2 separate regions of the Homo sapiens genome follow, and region 1 is linked to region 2. Evidence: promoter capture Hi-C in human tissues and cell types (Jung and others, 2019). All regions are on one chromosome and are shown on one strand. The core of a region is centred on a gene start or on the middle of the fragment in contact, and the rest is flanking DNA. Distances in the headings are between cores, read along the strand shown.

Region 1 (2,878 bases), core at 322-2,821, 320 kb before region 2:
GAATTGTTTGAAGCCAGGAGGCAGAGGTTGCAGTGAGCCAAGATCGTGCCATTGCTCTCCAGCCTGGGAGACAAGAGCAAAATTCCGTCTCAAAGCAAAAAACAAAAAACAAAGCGGATTCTCCTCCAGAAACTTTTTCCAGGCAAAGCAGTAGCCTAAGGGTTTACAGCTGATGAATGCCACCAATGAGTTGGACAGTGTCTCAATAACTTTAGAATATCTATACCTCAAGTCCTCCTCCCAGGCAGGATCCATTGATGGCAGCCACAATAGGCTTTGTGGACTTTTCAAGTTTCTCAACTATTCTCTGTGCTTCTTGTGATAGCTGTGTTACTTCTTGAAGGGTCTTGCAAGCGGCTAACATGCTGCATTATCCATAAAAGTAGAGAACAGAGAAAAAGATAAAACTATAATTTATTTGGTTCAATACTTATTCACTATACACTTATCCTATCATGCATCAATATTTGATGACAAATCTTCAAATAGAAGGTTAAGAATGATTTTGCTTCAAATAGCACAATAGCAGCAACATCATTTCTCCATAAAGAGTGTTAAACTTCTGGATCCATGAGACCATCCCGGCTAACACGGTGAAACCCCGTCTCTACTAAAAATACAAAAAATTAGCTGGGCATAGTGGCGGGCGCCTGTAGTCCCAGCTACTTGGGAGGCTGAGGCAGGAGAACAGTGTGAAACCGGGAGGTGGAGCTTGCAGTGAGCCGAGATCGCGCCACTGCACTCCAGCCTGGGCGACAGAGTGAGACTCTGTCTCAAAAAAAAAAAAAAAAATTCTGGATCCAGAAAACATAAATGTGTTGCATAATTTATTTTTACTTCTGTAATAAATCATTAAATTACAAAGCTTGGTACAAGGGAAAATCATCTTTGGTAAATTACTTCACTATCAGATTAAACATTTCACTATCAGGTAGTTAACAGCAATAAAAATGACGCAAAAGAAAAGCTTCCAGGTTGTTTAGAGAAATCTAAAACATTTTAACAGATCCCACTAATGAATAAAAATGACCAGGTAGGCCAGGCATGGTGGCTCATGCCTGTAATCCCAGCACTTTGAGAGGCCAAGGCAGGTGGATCACCTGAGGTCAGGAGTTCGAGACCAGGCTGGTCAACATGGTGAAACCGCGTCTCTACTAAAAATACAAAAATTAGCTGGGCGTGGTGCTGCATTCCTGTAGTCCTGGCTACTCGGGAGGCTGAGGCGAGAGAATCACTGGAACCTGGGAGGTGGAGGTTGCAGTGGGCCGAGATCGCACCACTGTACTCCAGCCTGGACAGCAGAGGGAGACTCCGTCTCAAAAATAAATAAGTAAATAAAAATGATCAGGTGCAATGATGTTCCACTCAATGTCCTTTAATTTCAGTTTGTTTCATTTGCTATTTTGTGAACACACTTAGGATATGGATTTTGTACTTTTGACCAAGGATAACTAGTATATTCTGTAATTTTATACACTGAGAGTTGCTCAGCTGGCCTCATAGAAGCTACATGTATTTTCCTCTGGATATAGGTAGCTACTGCCAGGTACATCAGTGTCTTGTTAGACTTTATAAATGTTCTGTTTAATGTTAATTTTTTAGAAGACCCAAAATTATCTTATCAAGTGGTTTTTCTTCTAGCTGAATTATTTGTGCCTAACAAGAGACTGATTACTACACATAAATAATTACACTTTCAGTACAAATTACTAAACCTACAATGCTGGCTATCATTGTCTAAAATACAAAGAACATAACAAATACCCATATTTTAATGGAATTGACAACTTAACATTTTAACCTATTAAACTGACACTAAAATATCATTTCCCCTCCTTATGTATGTGTAAACAATTGTAAATAAGTTAATGTAGGCATGCATTCCACCATTTAGCAGAGGAAAAGAAAATACTAGCTGCATCTGTAAAGCTGCCTTTAACAATCAAGTCCTACCACCCACTTCATTTCCCCAAAGCAGCCATCTTCATGTTTGTAGTGTCTCCTTCCAGACCAACTACGATTGTGTCCATAAATAGTATCAAGAATTATTCCATGTTTGGTTTTAAAACATTTATAGAAACTATATACTGTATGAAACATTCTGCAATTTGCTTTTCTTTTAACTTAACCTTATGTTTTTGAGTTCTAACATCATATTGTGGATCTAGTTAATTCCTTTTACCTGTTTTGTAGTATTCTATTGTGTGAATAGTCCACATTTTACTTACCCATTTTCCTACTGACTGACATTTGGTTTTAAATTCTTCATTATTTCACACTACACAGGACCAAACATCCTTGTACACTGGTTCTTATAAACAAGGGGTGAGATTTCTCTAGATCACATGATGTGTGTGTGTGTGTGTGTGTATATATATATATATATACTCTGTGTGTGTGTGTGTGTGTGTGTGTGTGTGTGTGTGTGTGTATATACTTTTTTTTTTTAAGACAGTCTCACTCTGTCACCCAGGCTGGAGTGCAGTGGTGTGATCTCGGCTCACTGCAACCTCTGCCTCCCAGGTTCAAGGGATTTTCGTGCCACAGCCTCCTGAGTAGCTGAGATTACAAGCGTGTGCCACCATGCCTAATTTTTGTATTTTTAGTGGAGACAGGGTTTCACCATGTTGGCCAGGCTGGTCTTGAGCTCTTGGCCTCATGTGATCCACCTGCCTCGGCCTCCCAAAGTGCTGGGATTACAGGCAAGAACCACCACACCCAGCCTGATACGTACATTTTCAATTTTACAGGCCTGTGTCACTGTGCCCAGCACTTCTACTTTCTTTTAAAAGGAGAAATTATTAGGCCTAAGAAACACACTATTAACCAAGATAAAAGGTGACTTCAAGTTTCCTAAAACTTACTTGATATCAGCACC
Region 2 (2,939 bases), core at 260-2,759:
GCCCCAAGGCTCACTTTGCTCTTTAGTATAGGGGGGTCCTCTCTGCCCCCTTCTCACCACCTCGTCCCCATCCCACTCTCAGACCCCTCTCTCGGGAGAAGGGGCCATGTCTAGTGAGAAGTACCCCCAACCCTCAGGGCTGGGCAGCAACCACATGGAGAGGCAGAGGTGGGTGGTGAAGGACAGAGTCAGCCTGGCCCTGCCTTTCCCCACTTAAAATGCTCAGGGGCTCCGCTGTCCCCGGGGTCAGGTCCAGCCTCGCCTCCTTGCCCTGCTTGGCTCTCTGGCCTCCGCTCCTGCACCCTCTCTGAGCTGTAGACACATGGAACCTCTTTCAGTTCCAGAGTTTCAGCTCCTCTCTCAGCTCTGGGCACACTGTTTCCTCTGCCTCCTCAGTCCTTACCTCCTCTCCTAGCTCCCACCCGCTGGTCCTTCGGGTATTAGCTGAGTGTTACTTCCTCCGGGAAGCCTTCCCTGACCACCGGTCACCAGCCTGGGTGAGGGTGCTGCTTCTGTAGCTTGCATGCTGCACCCCCACCTTCTGTCTCACATACCTGTCCTGCTTGTTCCACGCCTGCCCAACAGATGCAGGCTCCTTGGGGCTGGGGCTGGGTTGTGCTCAGCTCTGTGTTTCTACCCCTATCCTTGGGACACAGTAGATCATAATAAATGGTCGCTGAATACAGGAGTGAAAAGGATGAGAAAAGACCAGACAGAAGAGAGGCGAGGGGCTCCCGGGGTTCCCGCCCATGAATAGATCTAAAAGAAGCCAACAGTGTCCCCCATCACTCTGGGGCCCAGGGAGCTACTGGCTGCCTGGTTTCTCCCAGTCACCCTGGGTGCCCCAGGCTCCATACCCGGCCCCCACCCTGTGCTCAAGGAAATCAACCTGCAGGAGAGGGAGAGAGAGAGAAGGAGGGGGTCCTGGGTCTCCCTGAGCTCAGGGATGTGGTCCTCACTTCTGCCTCCCCAGGCAGAGGGCTCTGTGCCCTGCCCGGGGAACTGGCATGTTGGCAAGCACAAGGAGACACAGGCATGGAAGAACAGGGGACCCTGATTTTCCAGAAATCACAATGGCCAGTCAGTCCCAGGCAGATGACTACCTGTGAAAAGGCTCGTCGCCCCAGCCCCTGCTAGAACTTTTCCCACCCATCCTCCCAGCCCTGTCCTATCCCCGGCCACCTCCAGAGCATGGGCTGGTCCAGCTCTCAGAGCTGGCGTCCCTCTGAGACAGCGGCTTCCCTACCTCGGAAAGTCACTTTGGCGATCCGGTCGCCCCTGCCCCGCAGCTCCGAGACTGTCTTGAGGTGGATGAGCAAGGCCATGCTGGTGTGGGCTGCCTGGCACTGCCAGGCAGGAGCAGCGGGAAGGAGCTAGCCGGTGGAGCACGGCTCACACGCCTCTCTCTTCTCTGCCGCTGCCTCCTCCTCCTCCTCCCGACCCCCCTCCGATGCTGCCCACAGAGACCAAGGCAACCAAGCCGAGCTAAGCTGCTCCTGCAGCGACTCACAGAGCCTCACAGCCCCCGCCCCTCCAAGTTGTCAGCCCAGCGTGTGTGTATCGGTGTGTGCGTGTGTGTGTGTGTGTGTGTGCACCCAATGTGCAGCCTGGGAGTGCGGCAGAGTTGGAATTCATTATTCAGCAGCCGCCGGCTCCCAGATAAAGCTCTGTCCAGCTTCAGGTGTCTTCTCCCAGCTCCTGGAAGGGAGGCTCTGCCCACCCCTCTGCAGGGCTCTGCTGCTTCCCTGCTAAGCAAGCCCTGCCACCAGTAGTGGGCACAGAGGAGTGGGCATGAGCATAGGTAGGGTGGATGTGGGGCGGGGGGCACTCCCACCCACAGGGGCACACTACAAGAAGAAGGGAATGTATTTGTCCACCTACGCCCACCTCTTCCCTGCTGGAGACTGTGCCCCCAAGAGGCTGGGCCCTGAGCCCTGCCCTGGGATCCCTGTTTCTGAATCTCAGGAAGCAGAGAGGCTGGGGCTGCTGCCTGAGGGGAGGCTCAGGACCAGGCCATGCATGATGGAGATGGCTGGTTGTGGAGGCAGCAGAGGCTTATGTGCTACCAGGGGCCATGTTTAAGGATCCAGGGCACTAACCTAGCCCCACCCCAAGGCTGGGGGTCAGGCAGGCTAGCGAAGGTAAGCCAGGCTGATGTTTGCTTTCCAGCCAGAGGAGCAGAATTGAATGGCCTTCTGCTGTTATAAGCTGCTAGGGGCAGGAGAAGGGATGTCTATAGGGAAATTTCTAAGGACCAAAAGAGAACTGCCCCCTCCTGTCTTCCAGCAGCATACACCAAGGAAAGGGACGCTGGGGGCCAGAATCCCTGATGCTGGAATCTGTGCAGGGTCATCTGCAGCCTTGTTCTTGCTATTCATTCTTGGTGGAATGCCCTCCACCCCACCCTGGACTCAGCTTGAGTGCCTGCTCCTGGAGGTGCCTCTGTACCCGCACCCCAGCTGGGTTGGGGTCCTCCTCTGTGCTGCTCCTGCCTCCTCTCATCTTACTGAGTCCTGGGGCTGCTTCCCTTGCCTTTTCCCCTCCTGACCTCAGGAGGGCCCTGGAGCACAGCATCCCTCTACCCCAGAGCCCCACATGGTATCCTGTGCACCGTAGGATGCCCAATTACTGTTGAAAGGATAAAAGAGTGAGCTCAGGGATCTACCTGAAACAGAGTCTAAAGGTTAAAAAGAGAAATACTAATTTTTCACAGCATGGTAACAAGAGGTTACTTCTTTTGAATTCTGCATTCCAAATAACCTACAGTATGTCCCAAGAGCCTTCTTTCCTCCTTCTAGATATTTCCTTGCTACTGTGCCCTATTTTTCTTTTTCTACTTACGTTTTTTTCCTTTGCACTTTTTCCTAACCAATTCTTGCTTACCTTTCTCACATTTATCTAATCATATTGAATTTAAAAATGTCTTAGAGTATTCTGTT

The links. The method cuts DNA at HindIII sites, captures the fragments that hold promoters and counts their contacts. A contact is called where the count stands out against the background at its distance.
Region 1: a fragment that was not itself captured here is called in contact with the fragment with the promoter of OTOF in region 2 in 2 of the 25 tissues and cell types used here (IMR-90 fibroblasts and liver).

Annotation. Positions count from the first base shown.
Region 1 is chr2:26,233,991-26,236,868 of GRCh38, forward strand. HADHA (hydroxyacyl-CoA dehydrogenase trifunctional multienzyme complex subunit alpha) reads right to left here. Exons shown (of 20, transcript NM_000182.5): 4 at 2,865-2,878; 5 at 227-365. Among named protein-coding and RNA genes, the nearest start is that of HADHA, 9.2 kb to the right of the region's middle. The HindIII fragment of the contact is 5,257 bases long and covers 1-2,878 here.
Region 2 is chr2:26,557,247-26,560,185 of GRCh38, forward strand. It overlaps OTOF (otoferlin), which reads right to left and starts at 1,510. Exons shown (of 47, transcript NM_194248.3): 1 at 1,247-1,510. The coding sequence starts at 1,325. RefSeq lists enhancers at 871-1,664, 1,665-2,457. The HindIII fragment of the contact is 11,571 bases long and covers 1-2,939 here.